Regions from separate parts of the Homo sapiens genome. Here all the other regions are linked to region 2. The links are contacts of gene promoters, found by promoter capture Hi-C in human tissues and cell types (Jung and others, 2019). All regions are on one chromosome and are shown on one strand. Each heading gives the region's core, a stretch centred on a gene start or on the middle of the fragment in contact. The rest is flanking DNA. Distances are from core to core; before and after follow the strand shown. Region 1 has its middle 23 kb from the start of CHRNB4. Region 2 holds the start of ADAMTS7 (ADAM metallopeptidase with thrombospondin type 1 motif 7). Region 3 overlaps CHRNA5 (cholinergic receptor nicotinic alpha 5 subunit).

Region 1 (3,370 bases), core at 774-3,273, 150 kb after region 2:
AATGTACAGTTCCGTGGCTGTATTAGTCTGTTTTCACGCTGCTATAAAGATACTACCCGAAACTAGGTAATTTACAAAGGAAAGAGGTTAAATTGACTCACAGTTACACATGGCTGGGGAGGCCTCAGGAAACTTCAATCATGGCAGGAGAAGGGGAAGCAAGAACCTTCTTCACGTGAGGGCAGGAGAGAGTATGCGTCAGTGCAGGAAAAACTACCAGTTATAAAACCATCAGATCGGGTGAGAAGTCATTCACTATTAAGAGAACAGCATGGGGAAAACTGCCCCCATAGGGAAAACTGCCCCCATACTCCAGTCACTGCCCACCAGGTCTTTTCCTAAACACCTGGGGATTATAATTCAAGATGAGATTGAGTGGGGACACAAAGTCTAACCACATCAGTGGCATTAAGGATATTCACATTGTTCTAAAACCGTCATCAACAACCATCTCCAGAACACTTTTTTATCTTGCAAAACTGAAACTCTGTACCCATGAAGCAAAAATTCCCCATCCCTGGCTGGCCCCGATCCTGGCAACCACCATTCTACTTTCTGTCTCCATGAATTTGACTACTCTAAGTATCTCATATGAGTGAAATCATACAATAATTGTCCTTTGTTACTGGCTTACTTCACATGCATAATGTCTTCAAGGTTCACTAATGTAGCATGTGTCAGAATTACCTTCCTTTTTAAGGCTGAATAATAGTCCATTGTATGGATATACCAAATTTTGTTTATCCATTCATCTGTCTATGGACACTTGAGTTGTTTCCACCTTTTGGCTATTGTGAATAATGCTGCTGTGAACATGTGTGTGCAAACATAAAAGAAGTAACTTTTTGGCCAGGCACAGTGGCTCATGCCTGTACTCCCAGCACTTTGGGAGGCCGAGGTGAGCAGATCACCTGAGGTCAGGAGTTTGAGACCAGCCAGGCCAACATGGTGAAACCCCGTCTCTACCAAAAATGCAAAAATTAGCCAGATGCAGTGGTGTGCCTGTAATCCCAGCTACACGGGAGGCTGAGGCACAAGAACCGCTTGGACCTGGGAGGCAGAGGTTGCAGTGAGCTGAGATCACGCCACTGCACTCCAACCTAGGCGACAGAGTGAGACTCCATCTCAAAAAAGAAGTAACTTTTTACAATTAAAAATATGGTTACCAAAATAAAACTTGCTAGATGGCTTGGAAAATAAAATTGATGGAATGTCTAGAATGCAGACAAAACATAAAAAAGAAAAAAAAATACAAGAGGAGAAATAAAATACTTCAAGGACTGATTCAAGTTCAACCAACCAGTTGACACTCCAGAAAGAGAACAGAGAAAACAAAGGGCAAGGGGTTACCAAAGAAATAATAAAAGAAAATCTCCTAGAGCCATGGGTTAGCCGTGTTGAAGCCCAGCCATGTGTCATGCACCGTGTGGATACTGGAGCTACATACAACTGCCACATGGTGCTGAGAATCTTGGGAGAGAGAGACAGAAACAAAACACTTGCATAAATTAATGTGAAATTGTAGGTAGAATGCAGAGCGCAAAAGGAACCTATAAAAACTTAGGCCAAGGATAGCCTCCTGAGACAGGGACGTTCAAGTTCAGAAGTAACCAGGCAGGAGAGAATGGGAGAAGTTCTGGGCAAAGGGAACAGCATGTGCAAAGACTGTGTGGCCAGAGAGGGCATGATGAGTTTGAAGAGCTGAAAGAAGACCTGCGTGGCTGGAGCTAAGAAGAGGCTTCCTAGGTGGTGAGCAGGGGAGGAGGTGAGGGGTGGATCCAACCATGTCAGGCTTTGAGGGCCCAAGAGTGGTAAGAAGCCAGGTTTTAGAGACAAAAACAGGTCCCTAGGGAGACAGAAAATGCTTTCTATTCCTTCTGGACACCAAGAAACAAAGCACAAGTTAAATCCTCAGTAGCTACTCACTTCTCTAGTGCTGGATGGGACTTTCTGCTCCACTGCAAAGAGCTCAATCTGGCCCTGCCCTGTGCAGCACAAGGGGGCAAAGCTCCTTAGGCTAAATCACAGGTGCTTTGGTTTTTAAAACTTGACTGAAGGACTTGGGTGACTGATGGGTGAGCAAGAAGAAAGTTGTTTGGATTCATGGGTGCACATTTAGGCAGTTTCAATATTCCATGTGTGAGTGCGACTGTGATGCATATTGATGCATTCATTTTGCACATCTGATTATTTCTTCAGGATCTATTTCTAGAAATAAAAGTTCTGGTACAAACAGATGGGGCATTTTTAGGGCTTTGGCCCTACAGAACAGTTGTTCCAGTTTACAGCCCCAGCAGTGGATAAGTGTCTGTTTACTCAAACTCTTCCCTGTCCAGCTGTCATTATATCTTTTTTATCTCTGCCAATTCAGCAGGAAAAAGAGGTGTCTTGTGGTTTTAGTCCTCTCCTCCTCTTCCTCCTCCCTTTTTAAGACAGGGTCTCGCTTGGTCACCCAGGCAGGAATGCAGTGTCTCAATCATAGCTCACTGAAGCCTGGATTCAGGCAATCTTTCTGCCTCAGTCTCTGGAGTAGCTGGAACTACAGGTGTGCATCACCATGCCCAGCTAATTAAAAAAAATAAAAAAAACTTGAGAGTTTTTTGTTGTTGTTGTTGCAGTGGCTCATGCCTGTAATCCAAACCCTTTGAAAGGCTGAGGCAGGCAGCTTAAGTCCAGAACTTTAAGACCAGCACGAACCACATGGTGAATACACAAAATACAAAAATTAGCTGGTTGTGGTGATGTGCACCTGTAGTCCCAGCTACCTGGGAGGCTGAGGCAGAAGGATCGCTTGAGCCTGGGAGGCAGAGGTTTCAGTGAGCCATGATCGCGGCACTGCACTCTAGCCTGGGTGACAGAGTGAAACTGTCTCAAAAAAAAAAAAATTTTTTTTTTTTTTTTTGTAGGTATGGGGTTTCACTTTGCCGCCCAGGCTGGTGCTGGACTGCTAGCTCCAAGCAATCCTCATACCTCGGCCTCCCAAAGTGCTGGGATTACAGGCGTGAGTCACTGCGTTTGGCCACATTTCTTTTATTGTTCTCATGGTTACAGTTGTTTCATATATTTACTGGTCATTTCTACTTTTTTATTTTTTGAGATAGAGTCTTGCTCTGTCACCCAGGCTGGAGTGCAGTGGCGTGATCTCGGCTCACTGCAACCTCCGCCTCCCAGGTTCAAGAGATTGTCCTGCCTCAGCCTCCTGAGTAGCTGGGACTACAGGTGCCTGCCACCATGCCTGGCTAAGTTTTCTATTTTTAGTAGAGATGGGGTTTCACCATGTTGGCCAGGCTGGCCTTGAACTCCTGACCTCAGGTGGTCTGCCCACCTCAGCCCCCCAAAGTGCTGGGATTACAGGCATGAGCCACCACGC
Region 2 (2,952 bases), core at 1-2,500:
GAAGTAGGTGAAGCCAGGAGGGGCTGGTAGGTTGGGCGAAGAGGAAGGTATCAAGGGACTGGAGGAAGAGCAATACATAGTGGGACTGTGAAGGTGGAAAGGACTGCAGAGTCGGGTCTGACAGGGGGGCACCTGAGCTTCGGATTTCCAAGATGGAGCAGTTCTGAGGGATGACACAGCCCAGGCTTTGGCCCTGAGACCTGATGGCTGAGGTGGAGTGGAAGGTCACTGGAGATGAGATGGAGGAAGTAGGTGACCCTGTACTACACAAATTCCCTAGAGGACAGACAGGTTGAGGGTGGAGAGGAAGCCAGAAGTGAGCTTCCAGGAATTGAATGAAAGGGCCCAGGAGATTGGACAATGAGGAGGTGTGCGGGCCTCAGAGGGCAGGGGGCACACAAAGACTAACCAAGGGGAGGAAGCTGACCGCAACCGCCCCGAGGACAAGACGGGCGTCCTCGGTACAGGGCCATGTTTAGTGACGGCAGAAGGGAGAAAGGAAGCTCCTGGGAGCACAGGGGGAAGGGGAGCCGGAAGCCAGAGCCAGGGCTGGGGCCACGAAGGACAGACGGCCGGTGTTGGAGGCGGAGGCTGGCCTGGGATGTGAGGCTGGGGTTGGCCGGCCTCCAGGCTCCCCGGGAGCCCCTGCTGAAAGTCTGTGGGCGCTGGCCTGGGCGAAGCCGCGGTCCCCCGCCTGTGGGCTCAACTCTGCGCTCTGCTTCAAGCAAACGCACTAGGAGAGGAGTCAGGAGACGAGGAACTGCGGGGCCCCACCTCGCGCGGGCAACCGCTGTCTGTCCAGGGAGGGCCCAGGCCTGTCTCCGCAGATAGCTTTGAAGCAGGGCCCCCGGTGTGGCCCTCTGGAGGCCTCCCGCGTCCCCTTTTGAGGGGCTGCCCTGCTTGGCCTGGGGAACACAGCGAAGGGCACCTCGTGGAGCCCAATTTAGGGACAACACATTAATTCTGGAAATTCCAGATTCTTTCCGGGGGTCCTCAACCGGCCGGGGTCGGAAAGGCCTGGCAGGGCTCCGCCGGCAGGGGGCGCTCGGGACAGGGGGGCGAGGGGGGCGGACATCCGTTGCGGGGCGCTGCCTGCGCCGGGCCGGCCAGCCCTTGAGGCGAGCACGGCCTGCGGGGCCGATGAGGCCGGGGCCGGCCGGGGCGGGGCGGGGCCAGGGGCGGGGGAAGGAGTCCGAGGGGCGGGGCGGGGGCCGGCAGCCGCCCTCCCTCACTCTCCCTCCCTTTCTTTCTTTCTTTCTTTCTCTCCTTCTAGCTCTCTTGTCTTTTCTTTGCCTCTGCAGCGGCCAAGGGGGCGGGCCCTGCAGCCTTTGTTGCCCGCGGACCGAGCGCAGCCGAACGGAGTCGGGGCCGGGTCGCCGGGAGCTGCACGCCGGCCGGGCATGTCCTGAGCCGGACCTGGGACCAGGCAGCGACCGGACGGGACGGACGAGAGCGTGCGCGCGGGGTCACCCGGCGGCCGCCCGGTTCCTGCCATGCCCGGCGGCCCCAGTCCCCGCAGCCCCGCGCCTTTGCTGCGCCCCCTCCTCCTGCTCCTCTGCGCTCTGGCTCCCGGCGCCCCCGGACCCGCACCAGGTGGGTGTCCGCCCCTCCCCGGCCAGCCGGGCCTGCCACCCCTTCCCGCTCCCCCAGTCTCGGTTTTGTCCCTCCTCACCTTTGTGGACCCCGCGCCGGCTCCGCTGTGCCTGGAGTTGGTCGCGTCTTCCGCTCCCTGGGTATTAGGGGACAGTAGTCGGGGTCGGGCCGGGCCGGGAGCGAAGCCGCGCTTCTGGGGAAACTTCCTCGGCCCCTGATTCAGTTACTGACACTGCCTGTCGCCTGGAATAAGCCCCTTCCGCTCTTCGGGCTCCGGTTTCCCCACCTCGGGTGCAGCAACGCGCCTGGCTCCCGGGAGAGCTCTCGTCCGAGTGGGCTGGACGGAGCGCGGTTTACCCACTGAGGATTTGGTTTCTCACACTCCTTAGCGAGGCTCGCCTGGAAAGCGGGCTGGCCGGGACACAGCCGGCGAGGGCGCCAGGTCGCAGGTCTTCGCGGGACCCCGCCGCCCCCCCAGCTCCCGCCCACCGCATCTGGGCTGCTGGCGCGGCCCCTGGCGGCTCGGGGGGCCGGGTCTTGCGCGGTCCTTGCACTTCCTGCCTCTCCCTTCCCCAAGTGTGAAGACGCCGGGAGTGGAGCGGGGAGCAGGAGCTTCTTTTCCCGGCCATGGGTTAACTCTCCCCGCCCCGCCGGGCCGGCCTCCGACGAGCCTCTGGCCTGCGTCCAGACTCTTGTTTGGCGGCGACCTGCCGGGCGGCCGCGCTGCTGGCGCGTCCGACGCAGCCGGCCTGGGAATTCAGTAACCGAGGATGTAGGAGACCCCAGGCCCGGTGCTCAGGGAGCTCCCAGTCAGGGGAGCCGGTGGATAGTGGGGAGAGTCCTGCAATAGAGCCGACCGGCAGGCTTTGTAGGAGAGGAGGGGCATGAGGTTGGAGAGACTGGAAGGATGGATGGATTCTGGATGAGCTAGAAGGGCGTGGAGGGAGTGGGGCCCTCCCCTGGGGAGCATCAGTCGGGGGACTGGATTAGGGTTGCTTGCTGGGATGGGGTCGACCTGCCTCCCCACTGGAGGGATTGTGACGAGAAAGTAGTCTGGGCGGGAAGGATGGGGACATTGACTCTTGATCTTAGAGGTTTGGGAAGCCGTTGAGGGGAGCAGCTGATGAAAGCAGTGTTTTGGAAAGATTTGGTCTAGCAGCCATGCGCAGAGCGCAGAGGGAGCGAACATTTAATGAGCACCTACTGTGTGCCAGCCTCACGGGTTCTTATTTCTCATCATCTCCACAACAACCGTGCAAAGCAAGTGATGGAAAGTCCTTTTATGGACCAGCAAACAGGCTCAGAGTAGAGCGACCTGTGGGGTTGGACTCCTGAGCTTCCTGAATGAGGCTTGTGTTT
Region 3 (3,274 bases), core at 320-2,819, 230 kb after region 2:
ATATATAAACACAGTGTGTTATCATGTATGTGACACAATCACTACTTTTCCCTGGTGAGTTCCTTCAGGCAAAGGACTGCTTCAATCACCTTTGTAATCCTTGGTGCCTAGCACAGTGCCTGGGCACACACCAGGCTCTCACTAAATCTGTGGGAAATTGACTATAGAAGGATATGCACACCTACCACATCCACCAATTGAGATATTGCAAGTCCAAATTTTATTTTTATTTTGTCATTCAGGTGTTCCACAGGACGAACCCATCTTTCGTAGTCTTGAAATAAATCCTTAAGCAAACTATCTTCATGTTTTGCAATAGAAGAAGGTTCAGATAATCCTGTATAACAAATTTTTAAAAGTTAATGTACTCGCTTCTCTCCCACCAGATACCTGTACTTTCAAACAAAAGTTCAAACCCAGGAGGCAAAGGTTGCAGTGAGCCAAGATCGGGCCACTGCACTCCAACCTGGGCCATGGAGAGAGACTCTGTCTCAAAAAAAAAAAGGAAAAAAAAAGTTCAGATTATTAATGAACCAAACTACAATTTAGGCTATTATTAATGCAGCTTTTAAAATGAAATATTAATGTAAGTATTTCTGATAGAATAAGGGACACTCTGGTTCAGATACGTCTCAGTTAAATCAGACTGACTATTGGAATATGCTGAGCTCCTTAAGAAACACTCAGTACTCAATACAGAATAGTTTCAAATCTAAATAATAAAAGCTTTTAAATTGCCAGGGTGGCAGGAGTTATCTTGAAATTCCAAACCTAGAAAACAGATATACTAAAGCAAAGCTCATTTATCAATTATAAATGTTAAAATTGCTTTAATTTGCATAATCTTTTTTTTTTTTTTTTTTTTTTTGAGACGGAGTCCTGCCTGGTCTCCCAGGCTGGAAGTGCAGTGGTGCAATCTCGGCTCATTGCAACCTCTGCCACTGGGATTCAAGCAATTCTCCACCTCAGCCTCCCGAGTAGCTGAGACTACAGGTATCCACCACCACGCCTGGCTAATTTTTGTATTTTTAGTAGAGACGGGGTTCCACCATGTTGGCCAGACTGGTCTTGAACTTCTGACCTTCAGCAATCTGCCCGCCTCAGCCTCCCATAGTGCTGGGATCACAGCTGTGAGCCACTGTGCCTGGCCTGTCATAATCTTAATATGAAAATATATAAATATTGAATGATTGATTTAGCTTTGACATACTTTGCTACTATATTTGTATAAAACTATACATTTGTATAAAACTGCTTTTTAGGGAATAAGGAAGGAAGAACTCGAAGATAGCAGATAGCATGCTGTCCTGGAAGCTAAATGAAGAAAATGCAGCAAGAAGGGTTGAGCCTCCCAATCTACTGATGCTACTCATGAGACATGGAGAGGCAGCTGAGAACTGAGTGTTGGATTAGCAACAGTGAGGTCAATGGTGAATCTAACAAAAGCCATCTATGGGAAGAGAAGAGAGATGAACTGCAGTATGTTTAAGACAGAGTGCAAAGACAGGAATGATCTCTTTCCAAAAGTTATGCTGATATAGGGATACTGAGGATAAAGAATCAAGAAAGGTTTATTTCAAGATCAGTAAAAAAAATAAATAGGCGGTGGCTCACGTCTGTAATCCCAGCACTTTGGGAAGCTGAGGCGGACAGATTACCTGAGGTAAGGAGTTCGAGACGAACCTGGCCAACATGGTGAAACCCTGTCTCTACAAAAAATACAAAAATTAGTCAGGCATGGTGGCACACGCCTGTAATCCCAGCTACTTGGGAGGCTGAGGCAGGAGAACTGCTTGAGCCCGGGAGACAGAGGTTGCAGTGAGCCGAGATTGTGCCACTGCACTCCAGCGTGGCCAACAGAGCGAGACTCTGTCTCAAAAAACAAACAAACAAACAAACAAACAAACAAATAATAAATAAATAAATGTATGTATATGTGAGAATGTGAACATGGTTGGCTAAATAATTCACAGGGCCCAATGTAAAATGAAGATGAGGAATTCCCGTTCAAAAATCAGGAAACATGTGCCATTAAATATACTAAAAAGAAACTTGTTTCTTCAAAAAAATCTATTTAAGGACCTAAGTTGTTAAAAAAAAAAAAAAAGTCAAAATATAAAATGTTTTGGATACTATGGCCAAAGACTGGTTAGATTTGGGGATCACAGTTATGCTTATGCTACTACAGAGCTCAAATAAGCATCTCTGAAGAAATGAGTTTTCACTGTTGTCTGGCCTGGGATCACTTAAGGAAATGTGAAATGTATAAAAATTCAAGCATGACTTTTACTTAAGACTAATGATATTACGAAAAAACCACTTTTACTTGAAACAAAAATGTCACTGGCTTATTAATCAGCAAATATACACATAAGGATTACAGTAGCAAGTGATTGTTCTTCTCCAACCTAAAAGAAATGGTTGGAGAGAAATTAGCACTTTCACAAAATCTTCTCTTTATGATGATAGACCATGTTTTCCATACAGAGATATGAAAGAATATCCAGGTACTCTAGCTGGAGGAAACCTATTTCCTGGTTCTCTTTTTCATAAATAACCTACTCCTCAAGAGTTTGTGTCCTGCTTCCCTGAATAACTAGTTTAATTTTAAAAAATTATTTATTTTTTATTTATTTATCTTGAGACGGAGTCTCACTCTGTCACCCAGGCTGGAGTGCAGTGGTGTGATCTCGGCTCACTGCAACCTCCACCTCCCAGGTTCAAGTGATTCTCTGTCTCAGCCTCCCGAACAGCAGGGACCACAGGCACACGCCACCACGCCTGGCTAATTTTTGTATTTTTAGTAGAGATGGGGTTTCACCCTACTGGTCAGGCTGGTCTTGAACTCCTGACCTTAGGTGATCCACCCGCCTCGGCCTCCCAAAGTGCTGGGATTACAGGCGTGAGCCACTGCGCCAGGCAGTAACTAGTTTAAGATACTTAGTTTAATCTACAAATACTATGGAGTTTGTGTGGTGACGCCTGTAAAAGTCACCTTATGCTGAAATGCACAGCATTGAAGATATTTAGATTAATTTAGAAAATTATACACTAGAGTCATTCTTAATGTTTAAAAGCCATTAATTTTAGAGCTTCAAGTTAAAATAGCATTATTGAACCATTTCTCCTCTTCTAATCCTCCTATAGTCCCTGAAATACCAAAAATTTAAGGGTTAAAAGATAAAAGTATTAATAAATAAAATGTCTTTTTTTTTTTTTTTGAGACAGGGTCTCTGTCACTCAGTCTGGAGTGCAATGGTGCAATCTTGGCTCA

The links. Contacts are between HindIII fragments. The study calls those that stand out against the background at their distance.
Region 1: a fragment that was not itself captured here is called in contact with the fragment with the promoter of ADAMTS7 in region 2 in 4 of the 25 tissues and cell types used here (liver, mesendoderm cells, spleen and 1 more).
Region 3: a contact is called between a fragment that was not itself captured here and the fragment with the promoter of ADAMTS7 in region 2, in 1 of the 25 tissues and cell types used here (IMR-90 fibroblasts).

The regions. Positions count from the first base shown.
Region 1 is chr15:78,662,988-78,666,357 of GRCh38, reverse strand. No RefSeq gene overlaps it. Among named protein-coding and RNA genes, the nearest start is that of CHRNB4, 23 kb to the right of the region's middle. The HindIII fragment of the contact is 6,536 bases long and covers 1-3,370 here.
Region 2 is chr15:78,809,762-78,812,713 of GRCh38, reverse strand. It overlaps ADAMTS7 (ADAM metallopeptidase with thrombospondin type 1 motif 7), which reads left to right and starts at 1,250. Exons shown (of 24, transcript NM_014272.5): 1 at 1,250-1,593. The coding sequence starts at 1,494. RefSeq lists a silencer at 803-1,222. The HindIII fragment of the contact is 14,119 bases long and covers 1-2,952 here.
Region 3 is chr15:78,577,874-78,581,147 of GRCh38, reverse strand. It overlaps CHRNA5 (cholinergic receptor nicotinic alpha 5 subunit), which reads right to left. Exons shown (of 6, transcript NM_000745.4): 2 at 186-337. Among named protein-coding and RNA genes, the nearest start is that of CHRNA5, 14 kb to the right of the region's middle. The HindIII fragment of the contact is 3,216 bases long and covers 1-3,177 here.